Linked DNA regions of Homo sapiens: region 2 is linked to region 1. The links are contacts of gene promoters, found by promoter capture Hi-C in blood cells and fetal thymus (Javierre and others, 2016). All regions are on one chromosome and are shown on one strand. The core of a region is centred on a gene start or on the middle of the fragment in contact, and the rest is flanking DNA. Distances in the headings are between cores, read along the strand shown. Region 1 holds the start of RAD54B (RAD54 homolog B). Region 2 overlaps RAD54B (RAD54 homolog B).

Region 1 (4,419 bases), core at 1,163-3,662:
TGCCCAGGCTGGAGTGCAATGGCACGATCTTGGCTCACTGCAACCTCCACCTCCTGGGTTCAAGCAATTCTTCTGCCTCAGCCTCCCCAGTAGCTGGGATTACAGGCACTCACCACCATGCTCAACTAATTTTTGTATTTTTAGTAGAGACAGTGTTTCACCACGTTCACCAGGCTAGTCTTGAACTCCTGACCTCAAGTGATCCGTCCGCCTTGGCCTCCCAAAGTGCTGGGATTACAGGCGTGAGCCACCACGCCTGGCCTTTTTAAACTTTTTACTTGAACTAATGTTTGACTTACAGAACACTTGCAAAAACAGAACAGAGTGTTCATGTGTACACTTCTTCCAGCTTTCTTTCTTTTCTTTTCTTTTCTTAAGAGACAGTGTCTCACTATGTTGCCCAGGCTGGTCTTGTCTCAAGCTCCTGGCCTCAAGTGATCCTCCTGCCTTGGCCTCCAAATAAATATCAACAAATATTTATTGAGTGCGGTCTGTAAGACTAGTACAGTTCTGGCTGGGTGCTGTAGCTCATGCCTTTAATCCCAGCACTTTGGGAGGCCGAGGTGGGCAGATCACGAGGTCAGGAGTTCGAGGCCAGCCTGGCCAATATGGTGAAACCCTGTCTCTACCAAAAATACAAAAAATTAGCCAGGCTTGGTGGCGGCGCATGCCTGTAGTCCCAGCTGCTTGGGAGGCTGAGGCAGAAGAATTGCTTTAACCCAGGAGGCAGAGGTTGCAGTGAGCCAAGATCATGCCACTGCACTCCAGTTGGGTGACAGAGAAAGACTCCGTCTCAAAAAACAAAACAAAACAAAAAAGACTAGTACTATTCTAAACACATGGGTACAGCAGAGAATAAAGCAAAGATCCTGCCCTCATGTAGCTTATATTCTGAGAGTAATAGAAAAACAATTAACAAATAAGTATATGTTAGGGAATGGAAAGTGTGATGAACTCTATAAAGCAGGGTAAGGGAGATACAAGATGAGACAAGAGAGCAATGCACTGTCAGATAAAGCCCTTTGACAAGTTGATATGTGAGTAATGATCTGAAGTGAAGGATCAAACCAGATGCAAATCTGCAAGAGGAATGTCCCAGGTCACCTTTAGCCAATCTGTTTTAGATTTTCTGAACTCCCCAGATGATATTAAGGTAGGCTGCAGACACTATGAAGCTAGCTTGTTTTCTGGTTACCCTTACTCTTTATGTGTCCCAGTCCAAAGAAGAGGGGGGTGCGGTTTACTAAGGTGCCCAACCTTGGCAGGTCCCCATTTCAAATTCTTGTAACGCTGGCTCCAGGAGCTGCCAAAAGCACAACTCAACCTATGAGGTGCTCTTTATGACTGGAAAAAGTCCCCAGGATAAAAGCTCCTTAAGCACATTACTCTTTTTTTTTGAAACAGGGTCTCTCTGCTGCCCAGGCTGGAGTGCTGCGGCACCATCTCGGTTCATTGCAGCCTTCACCTCCCAGGTTCAAGCGATTCTCCCGCCTTAGTCTGCTGAGTAGCTGGGATTACAGGCGCGCTCCACCAAAACCAGCTAATTTTTGTATTTTTAGTACAGACCGGGTTTCACCATGTTGGCCAGGCTGGTCTCGAACTCCTGACCTCAAGTGATCCGCCCGCCTCGGCCTCCCAAAGTACTGGGATTACAGGCACAAGCCACCGCTCTCAGCCTCAAATTACTCTTTTAAATGGCTGTACCTATTTACACTCCTACCAGCAGCCCAAGAGTTCCCATTGTTTCACATCTTCATTTCACCCTTGATATTTTTTAGCTTTTACTTTTTGTCAAACTGCTGGATAAAACTCAATAAACAACCTTTAGCCATTCTCTCTCCTTTCAGATTAGCCTTTCTAATACCATTTTTCAGGGATAGTTGACTGTGTTACCGCCTAGCACTTAGAAGGTGCTCAGTAAATACTCATTGAATGATGTAACTTTCCTACTTAACATGCTTTAATGCTTTTCCAAGTCCGGAGGCGGCTCCCCTTTTCTGAGAGCCTAATAATCACGTATTCGTTTCTATATTCCCAGAACCTAACAAAGAGTTTGAAAATTATCCTGCAGGCACCGCTAAGTCAATGTTTTTTCGGATGAATGAATAACCAATAGGATATCGTATACTTCTGCGATGCACGCATTTCTATTATCGCACACACCGAATCATACCGTATTTATTACTTATCCACGCAGATGGTGAGGTCTGTAGCCTCGGCATCTACACTGTGTCTGAAAGTAGGCACTAAACCAGTATTTTTTTAATTGAACCGTAAACTTGAATCAAACTTGGAAGCATTTAAAGCCAAACGCAAAGATACATGCGCAGTGATGCAGTAGGGTCGTCCAATCAGAGTAGGGCAGGACAGGGCAGTGCAGCGGCTAGGTAGTGCGCACGCGCGGCGGGCTCGTCCGCGATTGGCTTCGCCGAGGCGGGATCCTTGAGCTTCTCCGGCGGCGAGGGGATAGCTGGTTACCAGAAGGACTTCTTTGCAGGGCCAGTGGTTTCTGTCAGATTTTCGCCGGTGCGTCCTGCAGGGGGAAGCTCGGGAGGCTGCGACAGCCTGTAGGCTCGTGCGGGACAAAGCAGGGAGTGGCGCCGGAGCAGGCCAACGAGGGAGGAGGGAGGGAAGGCGGCAGGAGCGACCGAAGTGGCCTTCTGCGGGCCTGCAGCTTTGGTCTGAAGTGCCAGGGACGCCCTGGTTGCTGGCCCCGGGGGCCTTGGAGCGAAGGGCGGGCGGTGGGGGTTTAGGGTTGTGCGTTTGTGTGGGAGGGATGGTTCTGGGCAGTGGCCCCTGGGGCCGCCACTGCGGTCGCTTTGCGCAGGCTCCTCTTGGCTTTTGGGTCTCTCCCTCACTCCTGCACTGGGAATTTCCTTCCCCAGGGCCAGGGGGTGAAGGCTCTGCGAGCGTCCTGGAGAGTGTCGGTACGCCTTCTTTAGGGGCTTTTACCTCTTCACTGGTCAGGTTTTTCTTGTATTTCCTTAAAACCTTTTAATCGATTACCTTATGGAAGATTTTCTAGGTAGGAACAGATGCTTCTCGACTTACTACGGGGTTGAAAATATCCCAAATGGAAAATGGATTTAAAACACAGCTAACCTACTGAGTATTAAAGCTTGGCCTAGCCTACTTTTGTTATCAAAAAAATTATTTTCAGCTGTTTATTTTAGATTTGGGGGTACATGTGCAGGTTTGTTGCATCGGTATATTACGTGGTGCTGAGGTTTGGATACGATTGATCCTGTCACCCAGGTAGTGAGCATGTTACCCAATAGTTTTTGAACCCTTGCTCCTCCTTTCCTCTCCCTTCTAGTTGTCTCCACTGTCTATTGTTGCCATCTTTATGTTCATGAATGCCCAATGTTTAGCTCCCATTTATAAGTGAGAACATGCAATATTTGATTTTCTGTTTCTGCTTTAATTCGCTTTGGATAATAGCCTCCAGCTGCACCCATGTTGCTGCAAAGGACATGATTTCATTCCTTTTTATGGCTGCGCTAGCCTACCTTAAACATGCTCAGAACACTTACCTTAATCTACAGTTGGGCAAAATCATGAACACAGACGGTTGTGTGGTTACTTGTACAGTTTCTACTGAATGCTCATGGCTTTCTTAAAAGTCGAAGAATTCTAAGTGACACCGTCCTAAATTAGGAACCATCTATATAGCCGGAGTCTCAAAGGAGCAATTTAAGGCATGAAGTGAAATAATTACTACCTAATGTAGTTGGAAGTCGACAAGCAGCAACAGCAGGGAGAGACCGTTGCTGGTTCTTGGTAGAGTTGGTGTACTTACATTCTTGCATCCTCGACGTTTGATGGTTGCACATACCTCTCTTTAAAGCCCAGACGAACCCAAAGATTCTGGTCATTGTCCTGTATGTTGAACTACCCCTTCTCTATCTCCTTCACAGGACCTTCATCATTTCTACTCTCCGATAATACTAATTATAACAGATAACATTGAGTGCTTACTATGTGTCAAGTTTTGTTCTAAGTGCTTTACATATTTCATTTAATCCTCCCAACAGTCCGGTGTGTAAGCATGATTATGGTACCCCCTCTTAAAGATGAGGAAACTGAGACACATGGAGCCAAAGTAAACTGTGCAAGACCATTAGAAAGTGTCAGTCCACATTTATATTCAGGCATTTGCTTTCAAAGTTGTGTTCTTATTTACCACAGTGTAGTGCCAAGTACTTGTGGCTATCTGGTGTATTACAGTTGTCAGCTTGGCCTTACCATTTTACTTGGAAGGACTGAAACTAATAGGTGTTATAGAAGTTGTAGCATCACATCAGGGCTACCAAATGGCTTTATTTCTAGGACCTGGGGAAAGGGCTCAGACAGCACTAATTAATTAATTAATTTATTATGGACAGGACAATATGAACATACAGAACCAGTTTAAAAAGC
Region 2 (4,767 bases), core at 1,170-3,669, 66 kb after region 1:
GGTCAAAGGATCCGAAATTTCAGTTAAGGAGGAATAAGTTCAAGAAATCTATTGTATAACATGGTGACTATAGTTAATAACAATGTATACTTGAAAAATGCTAAGAAAGTAGCATTTTAAAAAATGTTTTCACCACAAAAAGTATGTGAGGTAATGGATAATATTAATTAGTTTGATTTAGCCATCCCACAGTGTATACATATATCAAAACAGAATGTTGTGCACCTACATATATATAATTTTTGTTTATCAATTAAATAAACAAAAATTTCAGGTTTTACTTTCAGAGAACTCTGTAATCTTTGCCTTTCCTCAGCTTGTCATGTTACTTAATTAAATCAGTTTTGTCAAAATGTGATTTTAGATATTTTTCCATGCTATAGACATTGAAATAATTTCTTAATTTTTAGAGTTTTAAAATGTTTACAGTGATTATTATGTTATTCTACTTCATTTGAGTTTATTTGACTTCGGAACAGTAAGACATTTGTAGTAATTATACTCATCTGGTAATATTAACACCTGATATTTGGATTTCTTAGTTTATAAAATGCTAACATGAGTATGATCAAATATTCTTTCATACTATTTCTTAATATAATCTAATTTTCTTGTGCCTTTTGGTTTTGTTTGAATGACCTTACTACTTAGACATTAAAGTCATTTTTAATAATGTGTGTTTTTTTTTTAATTGTAGTTCATTCGGCTCCTAAAGAAGTAGCAGTGTCCAAGGAACAAGAAGAGAAATCTGATAGCCTAGTTAAATATTTCAGTGTTGTTTGGTGTAAGCCTTCAAAGAAAAAACATAAAAAGTGGGAAGGTGATGCTGTTCTTATTGTAAAAGGAAAGTCATTTATATTAAAGAATTTGGAAGGCAAAGACATTGGAAGAGGTATTATGATACTACCTAATGTTTACAGTTTGGCCTGAAATTAGTATGTATCTCCGGTTACATAATTGAAATGTAATTGGGTTTTATAAAGAGATGATAAGGTATTCTTTAATGGATGTTCATGCCTCAACTGTGTATAATACATAAAATAATCTCATAATGGTTAGTGAGCCTGACAATCTTATGGTTTATGCTAGCTCAGTGAAGCAAATCCTATCCTATGGTTTCATTTTCTCCAAAAATGGCCAGCCAGCTATATATAGTTATTTTGGTACTTTTCTGAGCTTAAACACTAAATTTGACTTGGTATACTTTCTCTCTCTCTCTTTTTAAGAATGCTAAGTGGTTAAAATTGAAAAATATGTTGATATCAAGTTGAATGATATGTAATTTCAGCACTACTCAATAATGTTTTGAAAAACAGAGCAAGGAGATAATGGTTAGGCCTGACCTAGATTAACATATGGAAATTGGAGGTTGCCATTGTTTCTGTTACAAAATGTTGCCAGCATAATTTGTAGTAATACAAGTTAGGCTACAAATTAAGAATGGCTAACACCAACTACAGTGTCTTTGCATTGTCTCAGTTCAATTTTGAGTGTGACCTATAACTATAAAATCTGTTCTACATGTTTATTTACTTAAAAATATAGTTTATAGTTTTTAATAACTATTATGTGCCAGGCAGTATGCTAGGAATACCAAAGATGATTATAATTTATAATTTAGTGGGAACAAAGCAAAGTAATTGATGATTAGGAAGCAATAATACAGTTGTTTCAATGAGAAGTTTTACTAAATGCAGTTGGAGCATAAAAGAACCATTTAATCTGCCCAGGAAGCAGTGGGAGCATAAAAGAACCATTTAATCTGCACAGGAGGCTAGGGGTAAGCTTGATAGGAGTTACCGTTTAAGATACTATTTGAAGGATGAATAGTTTTGGAGGTTATAGGTAAGGGCCATGTGCAAGAGAGAATAGCACATGTAAAGGCACAAAAGCAGGAAGGAATTCAAACTAGTTCAGTGTTTCAGGAATGTAGTGTATGAAAGGCCGTGACAGTGTTAAGAGTTGAAGCAAACTAAATTATCTACAATAGAATGTTTTATTTATTATAAAAATATGGAACAACTGTGTATAGTGATTGGGGAAGTAAAAAGAAAAATAGATAGTACACATTCTATGTTGGTTAAGGTCGATTGGGGCTAGATTTTTGGAGAATTTGTTCATGCATTGGTATTGCCTCTTTAGTGAAATTCTAAAGTCAGTGAGAGAGGAAAAATTATCACAATTACTTTGGAATATCTTTTACCCCTAAGGTATAGTGTGCATGGTTTTGCATATGTGTAGTTTATAATAAAATGATCTTTCAGTTGCAAGTAACAAAAAATGAAAATTAGGCTTAAAACAGTGGGTTTTTACCCTGACCATGCCAGTAGAATCATCTGAGGTGCTTTTAAGGGTGTAGTGGCTCACGCCTGTAATCTCAGCACTTTGGGAGGCTGATGGGGAAGGATTGCTTGAGGCTAAGTTCGAGACCAGCCTGGGCAACTTAGCAAGACCTTGTCTATACAAAAAAATAAATTAACCAGGTGTAGTGGCATGCATCTGTAACTCTAACTACTTGGGAGACTGAGGCAGGAAGATTGCTTGAACCCAGGAGATCGAGGCTGCAGTGAGCCTTGATCCTGCCACTGCACTCCAGCCTGGGCTGGAGAGACCCTGTCTCTTAAAAAAAAAAAAGAAAGAAAAAGAAAAGAAATGCCGATGCCCAGACTCTGACCTTTCTTTGAGGCTCTGATTTATTTGGCCTGTATGGTAGGGAGAGGGACTGAACATAGGTATATTTTAGGGTTTTCAAAATGAAAATATCCAAACATAGGACTTGGTTGCTTAATTATAACATTAATAAATGTATTAACCTGAAGTTAATTTTGCAAGTTACTGTCTATAAGCAGTTTTTCTTTTAAATAACTGGGATATACAATATGTAAATTTGTTAATGTAAAGATAGAGGTGCTAAGAAAACTGAAAGCTGGAATGCTAAAATTGCTAATAGCTTGTGATAATGCATCAGGCTCAGTTGGCCATCATTGCATAATACCTAGGAAAAAAAAAAAACCAGTATGTGAAACAAAGTTTAAGAGTAAAAGAAAAGCTTCTAGCGACTGAGATGTTTGAAAGAGTCACCTTTGGATCAAGATCATCTATGGATCTAAATGAAATGAGAGATCTTGGAATTAGAGCTACTTTAAAGGTACCTCAAAGTTAAAAGGTTATTCTTGTCTTCCATTTCCATGTAAAACTGAGATTAACAGTAATTGGATTTTATGTGAAGATAAAACTATAATCTTCATTAATTTGGATAAGTGAAGACCAATACTGATTTGGGATGGAGTGATGGGTCTTTGACATTGAGCTAAGTAATTTCTTCCTATATCAGAGCATTACAATTAAAAAGTATTCCACCATAAATAATTTAAGACTATATATTAAATACAGATTGGCACAGATTATAAATTTTAGGCCAGTTTCAGTAGAGAAAATTTTAGTAATTTTCAACTACTTGAAAAGGGTCATCATATTTTCTAAAATGTGGCAGTCTTTTATTATTATTTTTAGAGACTTAAAAGTTTCTGGTATACACAGCTCCTTTGCTTGGTAATGGCACAATAACTACACATTTAATAGTTTAATGCATTTAATAGACAAGCATGGAAGTCTAAAATGCCATCTATGTGGTTAGTGAACTCATTTTAAGCAGCCCATGACTGACTTATCCATACTTATATTTCATCAGCACCTTTACACAGCAACACTTAATAAATGTTCATCAAATTAATAATAATTCAAACAAGCTTAATATTACAAAATATTCCATGTTTTATTAAAGAGTTAGAACATGGAATATCTGTGACCTCTTGCCACAACTGTATTTTAACTTTGCTATCTCATGTGGAACAGTCAGTACTAGTTGTGGTAGCAGTTGCTTTTATTGCTAGTTCTCCTTCACATTTCTAGCTGTTTCTAAGTGAAAATAGAGGTACCATGATGTTTCTGTAGTTTATTTACAAGAAAGGAGGATACATATAGCCTATCAAACTATTTTCTTGGCTTAATTTTTCCGGACAAGAGATGGCAAAACTATAGAGTACAATAATCTATATTTTCAATAGTAAAAAAATTCTTGCTTTCTCTAAAGCATGGCTAATTTGATAGCTGTATTATTTCTTTTGATTTTCAATGTTTTTTTTAACCAAAATGTTAAATTATGCTTCCATTTTGGCTAATGCATTATATAAGACTATTTACATTCAAAGTGCAGTTTTTTTGTACAGTTACGGGAAGGTGACCGTGGTATCATAGAGTGTCAATTAATTTTTTTCTTTCTTAACTTAAAGGCATTGGTTATAAATTCAAAGAGCTTGAAAAGATTGAAGAGGGCCAAACACTGATGATTTGTGGAAAAGAAATAGAAGTCATGGGTGTAATCTCTCCAGATGACTTCAGCAGTGGCAGGTGTTTTCAGCTTGGAGGAGGAAGTACTGCTATCTCGCATTCTTCTCAGGTTGCCAGGAAATGTTTCTCTAACCCTTTCAAAAGTGTTTGTAAACCAAGTTCAAAGGAAAATAGACAGAATGATTTCCAAAATTGCAAACCACGCCATGACCCATATACGCCAAGTAAGATTTTAAAAATAATTTGAATTTTCTGTTTTTACTGTCAAAATGTTTTTTGTGTGTGAATTTGAAGTTTAAATTTTGTTTTAAAAGTTTTAGGTGAAAGTATACATTATTCTTGAGATATATAATCTGACATAAGAGATAATGTTGAAGTCAAATAACAATATAGTTTGGGAATTATTTCATATGTAAA

Evidence for each region. The method cuts DNA at HindIII sites, captures the fragments that hold promoters and counts their contacts. A CHiCAGO score of 5 or more calls a contact.
Region 2: a contact is called between a fragment that was not itself captured here and the fragment with the promoter of RAD54B in region 1, in 1 of 17 cell types (naive CD4 T cells). The highest score is 5.1, in naive CD4 T cells.

What each region holds. Positions count from the first base shown.
Region 1 is chr8:94,473,108-94,477,526 of GRCh38, reverse strand. RAD54B (RAD54 homolog B) reads left to right here and starts at 2,412. Exons shown (of 15, transcript NM_012415.3): 1 at 2,412-2,526. RefSeq lists an enhancer at 2,450-2,679 and a silencer at 4,148-4,197. The HindIII fragment of the contact is 4,488 bases long and covers 1-3,120 here.
Region 2 is chr8:94,407,246-94,412,012 of GRCh38, reverse strand. It overlaps RAD54B (RAD54 homolog B), which reads left to right. Exons shown (of 15, transcript NM_012415.3): 4 at 698-892; 5 at 4,293-4,574. Among named protein-coding and RNA genes, the nearest start is that of FSBP, 27 kb to the left of the region's middle. The HindIII fragment of the contact is 1,264 bases long and covers 1,788-3,051 here.